Linked DNA regions of Homo sapiens: region 2 is linked to region 1. Evidence: promoter capture Hi-C in human tissues and cell types (Jung and others, 2019). All regions are on one chromosome and are shown on one strand. Each heading gives the region's core, a stretch centred on a gene start or on the middle of the fragment in contact. The rest is flanking DNA. Distances are from core to core; before and after follow the strand shown.

Evidence for each region. The method cuts DNA at HindIII sites, captures the fragments that hold promoters and counts their contacts. A contact is called where the count stands out against the background at its distance.
Region 2: a fragment that was not itself captured here is called in contact with the fragment with the promoter of RPS15 in region 1 in 2 of the 25 tissues and cell types used here (dorsolateral prefrontal cortex and small bowel).

What each region holds. Positions count from the first base shown.
Region 1 is chr19:1,432,151-1,439,645 of GRCh38, forward strand. It overlaps RPS15 (ribosomal protein S15), which reads left to right and starts at 6,246. Exons shown (of 4, transcript NM_001018.5): 1 at 6,246-6,278; 2 at 6,657-6,742. The coding sequence starts at 6,276. It overlaps DAZAP1 (DAZ associated protein 1), which reads left to right. Exons shown (of 12, transcript NM_018959.4): 11 at 364-540; 12 at 2,587-3,534. The coding sequence ends at 2,762. RefSeq lists enhancers at 2,111-2,614, 5,991-6,861, 6,270-6,489. The HindIII fragment of the contact is 20,902 bases long and covers 1-7,495 here.
Region 2 is chr19:1,317,601-1,325,095 of GRCh38, forward strand. No RefSeq gene overlaps it. Among named protein-coding and RNA genes, the nearest start is that of PWWP3A, 34 kb to the right of the region's middle. RefSeq lists enhancers at 6,902-7,415, 7,416-7,495. The HindIII fragment of the contact is 8,009 bases long and covers 1-6,542 here.

The DNA.
Region 1 (7,495 bases), core at 4,996-7,495:
AACATGGGGACTGGGCATGGTGGCAGGTTTTTGTCCTTCTGAAAGAGCAATTTTGCTGTGAGGTTACTTGCTCCTTGAGTTCTTGTCTGAGGCCCACCTGGCGGCTGCTCCGTGAGGAACGAGGTGGCCCTGCTGCAGCTCAGCATCCCGCCACGCTCCCAGGAGTGTGTGTTTCCTGGGGGGAGCGGCCCGGGACCGTGGCTCTGTGGTCCATTCTGTGGATGTCCACAAGGCCTGGGCGTTCTGTGGGTTTGGGTGGCAGTCCCGTCTGGGCAGCTCCTGCTGGGCTGGGTGTGGGTCTCCTGCTGGTCTGCCCCCAGCTGCACAACGTGTCTTGTGCCTTGCCCTCTTGTACCTCTGCAGGTTTTGGCTACGGGCCTCCACCTCCACCGCCAGATCAGTTTGCCCCTCCGGGGGTTCCTCCTCCACCAGCCACTCCCGGGGCAGCACCTCTGGCTTTCCCACCGCCTCCGTCTCAGGCTGCCCCGGACATGAGCAAGCCCCCGACAGCTCAGCCAGACTTCCCCTATGGTCAGTATGGTAAGTGGTCTCCTGCCATGCCGCGTCCCCGCTGGCCCCAGGACCCTGGGCACGGCCTGCCTTCTTCTGCTTCCTCCCCTGCTGGACGCTCCCCAGCCTTTACCTGGTGGGAAAGGGGAGAGGGAGGAGAGGGGGGTGTGGGGGTTGTTGGAGAGATCTCGTGGCAACTCGGGTCCAGCAGAAGGGAGCGTGGGAGTCTTGTCGCAGCAGAGCACTCGTCATACAGCAGGTGCTGCAGGGCCTGCATGTGTGGGAACCTGAGTGGCGACTGGGTCGAGGGAAGTGAGTCGCAGGCAGCTGTGATCACTGTCTAGAGGTTCAGGCCCTCGGTGTGGGTCCCGGGTGCACTGGCCCCTTGGTGGGTTCCAGTTTCTGGCGTCATCAGCCTCCTGCTGGGTCCAGACCCCGCTTGGGGCAGAAGCTGGGTCTGTAGTAGGCGTGGCCTGGACGTGGGCTTCACCCTGGACTGGATGGCTGTCGTGGCTTGGGTCTGCCTGGACGTGATCTGCAGGCAGCGCATGTGCTTCCGGGGCAGGAGCTTGTGGGGGGGCGGGGTCAGCATGGGTCAAGGTCTGCATGTCAGTAGTTCTCGCCCTGCACTGAGCCAGGAGTCACAGCAGCCTTGCTCAGGACCAACGCGGTGGCCTCAGTGGGCAGGGCTCCAACTACGGTCAGCTCCTCCAGCACCAGGGGTCATTCACAAGCAGGGTTTGAGAACATGGGGCACCTGTCTGCAGGTGGCCACGGGCTTCCGGGGTGCCTGTGAACACGCTTCCTCTAGGCCTGGTGGAGGCCGGGGTGTGGGAGCTGTGTTCGGCCGAGGTGCCCGCCCACCCACCTCGCATGGCTGTGGTTCCCCTGCCCCCACGCCCAGGCCTTGGGCCGAGGTTGCCGCATGTGTGGGTTCTTGACCCACTCACCACCAAACCCTGGCGTGTCTGAGACTGGCAGGGGGGTGTGAGGCGCCCGGTTGGGGCGTGGCGTGTGTCAGCCGCTGCTCTTGGTGGCGGCTGCTTGGGTTGGTCACCCTGGTCTCGTCTCTTGCCAGGCCTGGGTTCCTATTCTCCAGCCCCGCCGGGCTGCGGCCCACACTTTGTTTACAGTCTTATGGTCAGGCTGAGCAGTGATGTGGCCTAGGTAGGTGCCGCCTCCTTCTCCAGGGTCCTCCCACCCGCCTGCACCGGGAGGTGGACGTGGCTTCCTCTGCCGTCCCGGGCGGGGGTGGACGCTGGCGGTGCCCTCTGGGAAGGGGCCCTTGCCGGTGCCAAGACATTGGCCACAAGCCTTCAGCGGGCCCAGGATCCCCCAGAGAGAGCCCACGCCCACCTGTGCCCACGTGCACCCGAATGGGAACCCAGAGGTCGTGGGAGGGGCTTCCTGCAAGGTGTGCAGCGGGGTGGGGAGCGGCGTGAGCAGCTCTGTCCTTGTAAAGACACCGCTGTCCATGCTCCTGAGGTCGGCTGTGTGGGCCGGACGGGCTGCAGGGTGTGCTGGCCCCTCAGCCAGTGGTGTCACTGGGGCAGTCAGGTTGGGCCCAGAAACCCTTCCCTGACACGTGCCACCGATGGACGTGCCCTGACAGGAAGGACAACGTGGGGTCTGGTCTGCGACGGAGGGGCAGGCCCTGTATCGCTGCAAGGGCCCGTCAGGGGTTTTCTGAAACTCCGAGAGCCAGCTTTCTAGAAGCCTGGTCCACCGTGCCTTGGGCCATGTGTGTCTCCAAGCCCCGAGGCTTCTCTACCTCCCCTCACCCCCCCAACCACGTCTTCGGGATTGAACAGGGAAGCGGTGAGGTTACGTGGGCCATGGAGGGCTCTGGAAGCCGCTTTTCTCTGTGTGTGCCCCTGCTCACATGTTTTTGAGGGAGAGAACATGCCCGGGGTCCTCTCCCCGGCCCAGGTGCTGGCCTCAGAAGGGCCCCACCCGCACCCCGTGGGACCCGTGGACTCAAGGCAGGCTCGGCGGAGCTGTGTCCAGGTGGCCTCGCTCGACGGCAGTGCCAACCGCCCAGGGACCGCCCCGAGCTCACAGGACTTTCTCCCCCAGCAGGTTACGGGCAGGACTTGAGTGGCTTCGGACAGGGCTTCTCAGACCCCAGCCAGCAGCCTCCTTCCTACGGGGGTCCCTCCGTGCCAGGGTCGGGGGGCCCCCCCGCCGGCGGCAGCGGCTTTGGACGAGGGCAGAACCACAACGTGCAAGGGTTCCACCCCTACCGACGCTAGCCCGCGGCGCCGCGACGTCTGCACGGCCCAGACCCAGGATTCCAAACTTGTGAACTCGTGACAATCACAAACTTGGCGGCAAAGTGGCGACTCAACCTTGGGGGGGGGGGCGGGGGGAGGGCGCGAGGCTTTTGGAGCGGCTGTGGGTGTCGTCTGGACTGAGGTTTTTAAATATTTCTTTCTCTAACCCATCAGCACAATAAAAAAAAGTCACTGGTTCAACAACAGGGTTTAAAAAAAATGTCTTCAGCTTTAATTCAAAACTTCAGGTTTCTTTTTCTTCCTTTTTTTTGGAAATTATTTTCCTGAGCCTTTTGTTTTACGGTATATTGTAAACTTTTATGTTAAAGAAAAAATATACATTTACAAATTGTGAGATTTTTAAGAGAAATTTTCTACGATGTATACTGGCTTATTTTTTAATTTAAAACGGGGTTTCCGTCGGCACTGGTGGAGGGGGTGCGCTGTTAGTCCCCTCGCTCCTGGCTTTGGGGGTTGGGACTTGGTGGTCCAGAAACTCTGGGAGCTTCTAGAAGAAATCTACTGAGTGTATTTCTGTTTTTTGTTTAATTCCTTGCTTTTGTCGACTGACCTGCTTGGTAGTGTCTGAGGTGAACTGTGGGGGTTGCGCACAGCCAGCCGCGTGGATCCCACGCAGCGCTGAACCGAACCGAGTAGGAAGCCTTTCTCCCCAGGCACGTGGCTTCAGGGCGTTTCCCATTGACCAGTTTGACCCTGGTTTGAATAAAGAGAAGTGCGTTTGGATTAGAAACCACTTTGTGTCCGTTTTTTCCCTCCTTGGTCTTGGCCTGTGCCTACCCTTCCAGTGCCTAGGAAAGGTCTGAAACGCGACGGAGGCGCCCTCGCCCTCCCCTTGGCTCTTGGTGGTCTCAGCAACCCCGAGGGCTTCAGGGCAGAGGCTGAGTGGCGAGCTGGGCCCATCCCTCAGTGGGTCTTGGGATGCTGTGACTTTGAGGATGTGGCCACCACCAGTTTTCTCGGGGAATGTGGGCTCCAGGCTTTTCCCATCTCAAGACCTTTAATCATATCTTTTGCCATGGAAGGTGACATATCCCCAGGTTCTGGGGATTAGGACAGGGGCATCTTTGGAAAGGGATACTCTGTCACTGTGGCAGGGAAGGCGAGACTTAAAAAGGGCCGGGCGCGGTGGCTCACGACTGTAATCCCAGCACTTTGGGAGGCCGAGGCGGGCGGATCACCTGAGGTCGGGAGTTCGAGACCAGCCTGACCAACATGGAGAAACCCCGTCTCTACTAAAAATACAAAAATTAACCGGGTGTGGTGGTGCATGCCTGTAATCCCAGCTACTTGGGAGGCTGAGGCAGAAGAATCGCTTGAACCTGGGAGGCGGAGCTTGCAGTGAGCCGAGATTGCGCCATTGCACTCCAGCCTGGGCAACAAGAGCGAAACTCCGTCTCAAAAAACAAAACAAGAAAAAAAAAGGACCATGAAGTCCCAAACTGGAAGCCTACAGCGTGCCAGGCGTGAGACTGTTCAGGCGACAGCCAGAACCACCCCCCCCCGCCCCAGTTCATATTTTGGGGACAGGGAAGGTTTGACTTAGTTTGGAGAGAACCAAGAGAAGGGGTACCCCCAACATCCCTGTGCAGTGCAGTTTCCTCACTGAGACAGTACCCCTCAACGCCTCAGCCCAGGAAGCCAGCTCCATTCCCTGCCGTCAGAGCCTTCTCCCATGTCCTCAGGAGCTGCTGCCCCAGCTCCCAGGAGGGCCAGGCGGGGGCGGCTGTCTATCCACACCACAGGTCATCATGGTGTTGAGTGTCAGCCCCTCCCGTTACATTAGCTCCCCCAGCCAAAGAGCAGCACTCACAAAATCAGCTTTCCAGCCAGGACACTCTGCTGCAGGAAAATGGGTAACATGGACGGGCCCGACACATAGGTCCTGTGCTCCTCGGGACGGAGACTCAGCCCTCCCTGAGTACAGTGTAATTGGCTTCCCTTGGGACTGTGGGGACGGCTGGGGAGAGCTCAGCTCCCTGGACAGTGCCACAGCTAAGCTCGGGTTCCCAGAGGTTTTGTGCTTTTTTTTTTTCTTTTTCTTTTTTTTTTTTTTTTTTTTTTTTGAGAAGGAGTCTCTGTCGCCCAGGCTGGAGTGCAGTGGTGCGATCTCAGCTCACTGCAACCTCCGCCTCCCGGGTTCAAGCGGTTCTCCTGCCTCAGCCTCCCAAGGAGCTGGGATTACAGGCACCCACCACCACGCCTGGCTAATTTTTTGTATTTTTAGTAGAGTTAGGGTTGGTCAGCTTGGTCTTGAACTCTTGACCTCAGGTGATCCGCCCGCCTCGGCCTCCCAAAGTGCTGGAATTACAAGCATAAGCCACCACGCCCAGCCAGGTGCCACATCCATAGTTAATAGTCACCTTCAACTTTATACTTAATTCCAGTAAGATACAGAAACATCACTCCTAGGCCAGGCGCGGTGGCTCACGCCTGTAATCCCAGCACTTTGGGAGGCCAAAGCGGGTGGATCACCTGAGGTCAGGAGTTCGAGACCAACATGGCCTGGCCAACATGGAGAAACCGTGTCTTTACTAAAAATACAAAATTAGCCGGGCACGGTAACAGGTGCCTGTAATCCCAGCTACTTGGGAGGCTGAGGCAGGAGAATCGCTTGAACCCAGGAGGCAGAGGTTGCAGTGAGCCGAGATCACACCACTGCACTCCAGCCAGGGCAACAAGAGTGAAACTCTGTCTCAAAAAAAAAAAAAAGTCACTCCTACATAGTTCTAGTTACTCCTTCTCTTTGAGCTATCATTATTCACATTACATTTACATATCTTAACAAACCCAGTGATATTCCTAACTTTATTTTTGAGGCAGGGTCTTGCTCTGTCGCCCAGGCTGGAGTGCCGTTGGCGCGATCACGGCTCACTGCAGCCTTGACCTCCTGGGCTGAAGGCTCAGCCTCCCGAGTAGCTGGGAATTTTTTGTACTTTTTATTCTTTTATGTCCGTGTGTACACAAATTTTTGTATTTTTTTGTAGAGAGGCAGTCTCACTGTGTTGTCCTTACTAACTTTATATACAAAATTTTATCTGTTAAAGCCGGAATGGTTCTTTTCAGCGAGGCCCTGTCCCTGCTCCAGTATCTGTAATGAATTCTCGTGTTCCTCCCACAGTGGGACCTGAACCGCCAAACCGCACCTACGAGCAAACGGTAGGCGCTCCATAAATACTTGTTGATGTGGGTGCCATCGTGTAGATGACGGAGCACGAACCCGAGGCTCAGACAGGGGCGGCGACTTGTCCAAAGTCCCACTCCGTGGAGGAAGCGGCTCTGCAGACCTCAGGCGGCGGCTGCTCTAATCCCTGCAGCCTGTGTTTTGCCCTCCAGACGGCAGAGGGCGCGTGTTCGCCGCCGGGAAAGCGGAAGCGCGTGTGCGCGCACGGCCGAGGGGGCGGGACATGCCGGCAGTCTCGCGATAACTGCGCAGGCGCGGACCAAAGCGATCTCTTCTGAGGATCCGGCAAGATGGTGAGTGTTGCGATTTGGCGCGTCTCTGCCGGGCCTATCCGGCTCCATCCAACCTCTGACCGTCTCGCGGGGGCCGCAGTTCGTCCCCGCGGCTACGGCGGCTTGCTCCCGACCCTGCAGGCGGCTGGATGTTGGGGCGAGGGGCGGACTTGGTGGGTGTCGGGACGACGCGGGGCTGGGAAGGCCTGTCCGGGCCTTCATGTCCGGGTCCTCGTAACCCGGAGCCGCGAGTGATCCCCGGGGACGGGTCGAAGCGGTGTGTCCCTGTCGGGCTTCTGTCCCCGGCGGCGCCGCGCGTCTTCCGCGGTGTCCTCGGGCCCGGTGGCCCCGGGAGATGGGTGTCGGGATCCCGCTGACGCCCGATCCGCGCCCGCACAGGCAGAAGTAGAGCAGAAGAAGAAGCGGACCTTCCGCAAGTTCACCTACCGCGGCGTGGACCTCGACCAGCTGCTGGACATGTCCTAGTAAGGGCGGCCGCGGGGGTCGCGGGCAGGGGCTGGGCCAGCGGTGGGGCTTGTCCGGGTGAGGGCGGCGGGGCGGGGGTCCAAGCGCCTCTGCGGCGGTGGGCGGGCACGGTCTCCGCGCGGGTTTGGAACTGAGTGTGGTCTTGCGCCCAGAAAACTGTCCAGAGACGTTGAGGTTTTTGCTTATTTGCAACCTGCCCCCCGTTGTTCACTTTTCCGCGGCTTAGTTGGAAGGTGTAGCCCCTGTCTGTAGCCCACGTGACTTAGAATAAGGGGCTGCGTTAGACTCCTTAGATTTTAAGGGCGGTGGAGGTCGCTGGGTCCTTTCCAGGCAGGGTGGTGGTGGGCATCTGGCTTGCGCTTTTATTTTTTAATTTTTGATTATTTTGAGGCGGAGTCTCATCCTGTCGCCCAGGCTGGAGTGCAATGGCTCCGTCCCAGCTCACTGCAGCCTCCCACTCCCGGGTTCAAGCGATTCTCTTGCCTCAGCCTCTCGAGTAGCTGGGATTAGAGGGCCCCCCCACCACGTCCGGCTAATTTTTGTATTTTTAGTAGAGACGAGTTTCAGTGTTGCCCAGGCTGGTCTCAAACTCCTGACCTCAGGTGATCCACCTGCCTCGGCCTCCCAAAGTGCTGGGATTACAGGCGTGAACACCGCGCCCGACCTTGATTTTTGATTATTTGTGGAAACAGCGTTTCTCTGTGTCGTCCAGGTTGGTCTTGAACTCCTGGGCTCAAGCGACCCTCCCGCCT
Region 2 (7,495 bases), core at 1,288-3,787, 120 kb before region 1:
GGTCTCGGTATGTTGCCCAGGCTGGTCTCCAACTCCTGAGCTCAAGTGATCCTCCCACCTCGGTCTCCCAAAGTGCTGGGATCACAGGCATGAGCCACCTCGCCTGGTCTTGACACTTATTTTCATGTTCAGTTTGACCATATTTGTGACAAGTCAGAGACGATACAGCAAGGGGAAGAAGACACGTTCCCTTCCCTCTAGAAAGTCACAGTCACGCACAGAAGGCAGAAGGCTTGCAGTGCACAGCGACGGGATAAAGGAACCAGCTCTGCAACAGAGTGAGTGGCTCTGAGCTTTTGATCATTGAGATATAATTCACAGACCATGAGGTTCACCTGCTTAAAGCACTGAGCTATAACTCGCGGACCATGAGGTTCACCTGCTTAAAGGTGTAATCCAGTGGCTTTTAGCGTACTTGCAGAGTTGTGCAAACCTCACCTCTCTCTAGTTCCAGAACGTTCTCATCACCCCAGAAGGAAACCCCATCCCCATTAGCCATTGCTCCCCATCCCCACCCCAGCCCTGGCACCCAGGCATCCCCTCTCTGCCTCTGTGGGTTGGCCTGTCCTGGACACTTCATAGAAATGAGATCACAGACTGGGTGTGGTGGCTCACATGCCTGTACTCCCAGCACTTTGGGAGGCCGAGGTGGGTGGGTCACCTGAGGTCAGGAGTTCAAGACCAGCCTGGCCAACATGGTGAAACCCCGTCTCTACTAAAAATACAAATAAATTAGCCGGGCGTGGTGGTGGGCGTCTGTAATCCCAGCTACTCAGGAGGCTGAGGCAGGGAGAATTGCTTGAACCTGGGAGGCAGAGGTTTCAGTGAGCCAAGATTGTGCTGCTGCTGTCCAGCATGGGCAACAGAGCAAGACTCTGTCTCAAAAAAAAAAAAGAAAACTGAAACTCAGACAGCGACCCTCCTCTGCCTCAGTCCTGCGGTGGCTCCATGTGCCCCAGGATTAACGCACACTCCCCGGCCTGGCGGCACACTTTGCTGGGCACGGGGCGAGACCAGAAGAACCCAAAGAGGCCAGAGGGTCCCAGCTCAGCGAGGAGTGGGAGGTGCTTCCTTCTACCCAGATAAGAGCCTGGGAGAGCTGGGAGAGTGGGAAGTGGGGTCGCCCCGATTTTCCAGGGCAGGAAACCAAGGCTGGGGCCTTGGGCTAACACCCACGTCAGGCCCCGGGTCTCGCTGCCCAGAGGCTCCGGTGAGTGAAGCTCCTGGCAGCGTGCACCTGCGCCCGCCGGACCCGCCTCCCACCTGCCATTCCTGCCGGGGAGGGAAGGGCCACTGTGGGCGGCTCAGGGCCCCCACCGCTGTTTCCGGGCTCTTGGTGGGGTGGGGAGGGCCGCTGTCAGAGACCCCCTGAGACCCTCGGGAACACTGCCTGCCTAATGAGGATCCCTGGGGCCTCTGCCCAGTTCGGGCCGGGGAATAAAGGCCTCCTCTTCCATTCCGCTGTTTCTCCGCCCCCCGCCGTAATAGGATTGAGACTTTTGAAGTTAATAGGAAATGAGGCAGGCTCCCACGTACAGAATGCGGACGCGGAGGGCTTAGAGGGCCCTTTGTGAGCCCGGCCGGGCGGCTCCCCCCGCCGGCCGGCCGTGATGAAAGCACCGTGAAATATACAGTGGCAGGACGCCCCTTGACCCTGACAGGCCTCTTAAAGAAAAGAAGGGGGGAAAATCCCCCAGCAGTTGTACATGTGCATGTGAACACACGTGTGTGTGTATGCAGCGCTCTGGCCCGGCCGGCCACTGGGACGCTGTCTGCACGGCGCCCACGCGGGGCCTCGGCTCAGCCAGGAGGGTTGGGGATCATTCCAGCAGCCAGGAGTTTGGGTTTTTTTTTTTTTTTTTTTTTTTTTTTTTTTTTTTTTGAGACAAGAGTTTTGCTCTTGTTGCCCAGGCTGGAGTGCAGTGGCGCGATCTCGGCTCACTGCAACCTCCGCCTCCCAGGTTCAAGCTATTCTCCTGCCTCAGCCTTCCTGAGTAGCTGGGATTATAGGCATGCGCCACCATGCCCGGCTAATTTTGTGTTTTTAGTAGAGATGGGGTTTCTCCATGTTAGTCAGGCTGGTCTCGAACTCCCGACCTCAGATGATCCGCCTGCCTCGGCCTCCCAAAGCGCCGGGATTACAGGCATGAGCCACCGTGCCCGGCCTGTTTGTTTTTTTTTTGAGATGGAGTCTCTGTCACCCAGGCTGGAATGTAGTGGCGCAATCCCTGCTCACTGCCACCTCTGCCTCCCAGGTTCAAGCGATTCTCCTGCCTCAGCCTCCCAAGTAGAGTAGCTGGGATTACAGGCACCTGTCACCATACCCAGCTAATTTTTTTTTTTTGTATTTTAGTAGAGACGGGGTTTTGCCATGTTGGCCAGGCTGGTCTCGAACTCCTGACCTCAAGTGATCCACCCACCTTGGCCTCCCAAAGTGCTGGGATTACAGGCTCGAGCCACTGCGCCCAGCTGAGTTTGGGGTTTTGGATGCTGGGCCTGAGAGTCAGAGGCCATTCATCACTCAGGGCAGACAGCCCCACCCAAGGCTCGGTCTTCTCTACTAACACACCTCCAGAGACGGCAGGCTTACCACTTAGCAAGACTCCTAGACAAGGCTTCTTTGCGTGTGGCTCCAGAGGAAGGTGAAGATGACACCTTTCAATGTCACTAAGGAAAAGTGACAAGGGACAGAAGGGAAGGCAATTTTTTTTTTTTGAGACATGGTCTCACTCCCATTGCCCAAGCTGGAGTTCAGTGGTTCTGTATCACCTCATTGCAGCCTCCACCTCCTGGGCTCAAGTGATCCTCCCATCTCATTTTTTCATTTTTTTGTAGAGATAGGGTCTCACTACATTGCCCAGACTGGTCTCGAACTCCTGGGCTTAAGGGATCCTCCCACCTCAGCCTCCCAAAATGTTGGGATTACAGGCGTGAGCCACCGCTCCTGCCTCAGCCTCCACAGTAGCTGGGATTACAGGTGCCTGCCACCATGCCCAGCTAATTTTTGTATTTTTGGTAGAGACAGGGTTTCATCATGTTGGCCAGGCTGGTCTCAAATTCCTGACCTCAGGTGATCTGCCCGCCTCAGCCTCCCAAAGTGCTGGGATTACAGGTGTGAGCCACTGCGCCCGGCCCAAGAAGGCAATTTCTAAAACAGCTTTATTGAGTTATTCACATAGCATACAGTTCATTCATTTAAAGTATACAATTTTTTTTTCTTTGTATTTTTAGTAGAGATGGGGTTTCACCATGTTAGCCAGGCTGGTCTCAAATTCCTGACCTCAGGTGATCCACCCGCCTCGGCCTCCCAAAGTGCTAGGATTACAGGCAAGAGCCACCACGCCCAGCCTAAAGTATACAATTTCTTTCTTTCTTTTTTTTTTTTTGAGACAGAGTCTCGCTCTGTCGCCCAGGCTGGAGTGCAGTGGCAGGATCTCGGCTCACTGCAAGCTCCGTCTCCTGGGTTCACACCATTCTCCTGCCTCAGTCTCCTGAGTAGCTGGGACTACAGGCGCCTTCCACCACGCCTGGCTATTTTTTTTTTTTTTTTTTTTAATTAGAGACAGGGTTTCACGGTGTTAGCCAGGATGGTCTCAATCTCCTGACCTCGTGATCCACCCACCTCGGTCGGCCTCCCAAAGTGCTGGGATTATAGGTGTGAGCCACCGTGCCCTGCCTTGATTTCTTTTATTGTCTTCATAAAGCTGTGTGTCCATCAACCCAATCAACTTTAGAACATTTCCATCATTCCAAAAGGAAACCCCGTTCCCTCCCCAGCCCTGGCACCCACACTTCCCCTCCCTGTCTCTGTGGATCTGCCTGCCCTGGACATTTCATAGAAATGGGATTGCACACCTGTGGCCTTCTGTGTCTGGCGTCTCTCACTGAGTGTGGCGTCCTCAGGATGCATCTGCGCTGTGGCCTGGGTCAGAGCCTCGCTCCTTTTCACGGCTCAGTCGTGTTCCAGTGGGCAGAGGGCCATGCCGTGTTTGCCCATTCTTGTGTTGATGGACATTTGGGCTGTTTCAGACGTTTCTGAGTGTGTAGGGAATGCTGTTCTTGCCAACTCTTCCAGTGGCCCTGGATTTGGGCCTTTGACCCTCACAGAAGGCCAAGCAGAGGCTGGGCAGGTCCCACCAAGGCCAGAAGCAGAGGGCGTGTTCCCCAGCAGGGCCTGGTGTTTGGAGCATGACACATGGAAACAGCTTCCAGGCATGACCCTGTGTCTCCCAGCTGGCCCTGCCACTTCTGGAGGTGACCCTGCCACCCTGTGACTCTGTTTCTCCGTCGGCAAAGGCGGCGGTGATGGGGACTCTGTGGTGGCAGCTATTGTCAGGCAGCATGGCAGCTGCACACGGGGGCTCGCCCATGTGAGGGAGGCTTTCCGCAGGTGGTCCCTGTCCCTGTCCCTGTTCGCATGGTCCTGCAGACGGCCGTCTCACCCCCATACCACTGGCGTTGGAGGGCAGATTGGGCGTGAGGAGAGGGTGAATCTGTGTCCAGGGCTCCCCAGTTTTCCGTTCAGACCCGTGGGGAGGCGACTTTCCCGCTGTGGGCTCCAGCATCGGGAGGGGTGGTCTGTGTGGAGTGACGTGTGGCCCTGTCCCCGCTACGAGAAATCCCGGGGAAAGGAGGGGTGAAGGGGGCGGGAGGGGGTTCCTGGAATCTGGCTGAGCTTGGGTGGCACCCAAGGATGCCTGCAGCCCGCCCAGTGGCACGGGAAGCCCCCTCACCCGCTGGCTGGAAGGGGTGGGAGGCAAGTGGCAGGAGGCAGGTGGATGGGTTGCCTGTTCTTCCCTGGGGGCGCCAGGGGAAGACCTGTCCCTGCCAGAGCACCGCGGCTGGCAGCCCCCAGCCCTTTGGTGGCAGCTATGCCCTGGGGTGGGCAGGGTGATGCGTAGGTCATCTGCCCCTGTGGTGGGCCCAGCGCCCTCCTGTCTTCTCAGACCCTCCAGAGGAGGCAAAGGAGGTCTCTCAGGCAGAGCGAGAACATGTCATTCCTTCAGGGACAGCAGAACCACCACAGGTACTGCCCACCTGGGTCAGACATCAGAGGGACAGAGACAGAGAGACAGAGACAGTCAGAGACAGAGAGACAAAGGGAGACAGAGAGAGACAGACGCAGGCAGACAGAGTCAGAGATGGAGGGAGGAAGAGACGGAGAGACAGTGACAGAGACAGAAGGAGACAGAGACAGAGAGACAGAGACAGAGGGAGACAGAGAGACAGAGATGGGGGAGACAGACAAAAACAGAGAGACAAAGACAGAGACAGAGGGAAACAGAGAGAGGGAGAGACAGAAATAGAGATAAACAGAGACAGAGAGGGAAGGAGACAGAGAAAGAGACAGAGAGACAGAGGGAGACAGAGATAGATCGAGTCGGACAGAGACAGAGAAAGAGACACAGAGAGACAGAGGGATACAGAGATACAGCAAGTCGGAGAGAGACAGAGAGACATGGGGAGACAGAGGCAGCGCAGGGGCGGCTGTGCAGGGCGATGGGCCGAGGGCTCCATCCCGGCCTTCCTGGCCCCTGGGCCCCCCGCCTCCCAGCTGTGACTGGCCTGCTCTGGCCTTGGGCTCCGCCTGACTTTTCTGGGTTTGGGGTTGAGGGTGCAGGAGGCCCTGGCAGGGCAGGACTCTGGGTCCCCAGGGGCCGCCTCACCATCCTGCCCCCGGGGTCACAGAACTTGGGCATCTCCCCATCAGTGGGCGACACGGGCCCAGCAGGGACTCGGGAAGGGGCTGGGGCACCCTGGGCTCTGCTCAGCCCGTGTCCCAGGAGCTTGGCAAGGGGCGCACAGCCAGCCCACAGCTAACTGCTGAGGGGAACCCTCCTCTCCCAGGTGCCAGCCCAGGTGGGGGCAGGGAGCCTCAGGCCCTACCCTCGGGTGCTCACAGCGTCTCCTGGACTTAGCAGAGGTCGGTGAGGCCCGAGGAAGCTTCATGCTGGGGTCTCGGTGCAGGAGGTGGAGGGGGGATGGGAAAAGGCTTGAAGGGAGGGCCCGGATCCATCAATGGACACTGAGGCTGCTTGGTGTCTCCTGGAAGATCTGTTCACATCCTGGCCCCTGAAACTTGTGAATGGGACTTTATTTAGAAATAGGGCCTTTGCGGCCGGGCGCGGTGGCTCACGCCTGTAATCCCAGCACTTTGGGAGGCCGAGGCAGGCGGATCACAAGGTCAGAAGATCGAGACCATCCTGGCTAACACGGTGAAACCCCGTCTCTATGAAAAATACAAAAACAAAATTAGCCGGGCGTGGTGGCGGCAGGCGCCTGTAGTCCCAGCTACTCGGGAGGCTGAGGCAGGAGAATGGTGTGAACCCGGAAGGCGGCGCTTGCAGTGAGCCGAGATCGCGCCACCGCACTCCAACCTGGGCGACACAGCGACACTCCGTCTCAAAAAAAAAAAAAAAAAAATAGGGCCTTGGCAGATGTGACCGAGTTATGACGAGGTCGTTCGAGTGGGCCTGGCGCAGCGTGACTGGCATCCATATAAAATACACATGCATTGATTGGGCACTGGTGAAAGGGAACTACCTCAGTCCCCACCTCAGGATGTCGCATAACCGGTGTTTATGGCACCAAAAACTTCATCTCTGTAAACCACTTGGAGGGGTGTCTGGCACCAAGTCCATGTCCATGAGTGTCTGAAAATAGCATAAAAATAAAATAGAAAAAAAGAAAGAGCTGGTGCCTACCCTCGGGGAGCCTACAGGACGTGAGCTTGAAAGAGCTGGTTATCTCCCCGTCTCTCTGTCTCTCTCTGTCTTGGAAATGTCTAAGGGGGCAGGCAGGAGGGCTTCCTGGAGGAGGGGTCCTTTGAGCTGAGTTCAGAAGGGCGAGAAGGAGCCAGGTTTCTCATGGAGCAGCCAATGCAAAGGGCTGGGGGCCACCTGGAGCCTGGTGTGTCCTTCGGGCAGCTGGTGTGGCTGGAGCAGGGGATGCCAAGCCTGCTGAGGGCTTCATGGGCCGCAGGGAGGAGTTTGGTTTTTCTCCTGAGGGCACTGGGGAGCCACAGCAGAGTTTAGAGCAGAAGAAGGACACAATTTGTGCCCTGTGCCCGTGGTGAGCGGCGAGCAGGGAGGGCTGCCTGGAGGCGGGTAAGGACCTCAGAGCGGAATTCTGCCACAGTGAAGCTTTGGAGGAAATCTTTCTTCCTTTTCTCTTCTTTTCCCATCACGGGTTGAGAAATTGGAGGGAGGGGCATTGCTGGGGCTTCCTGTGCCCGCGTGTGCGGGGGGTTCTGGGGCCTGCTGCCTGCCTGAGCCAGCCCCTTTTCCCGCCAGAGGCCTCTCGTCAGTCCCCGGGGGGGCCCAGTGGTGACCTTGGGCCTCGGGGAACATCCAGACCTGGGTCAGTGGCCTCGGCAAGTGCCCGGGGGATCCGCCCTCCGGTCCCCGTGCCAGTTTCCACAGCGGGACAGGGGGGTCCCGGGGGCCGGGAGTCCGCAGCCCCGAAGACCTACGCTGCCGCCAGCCACACCCCTGGG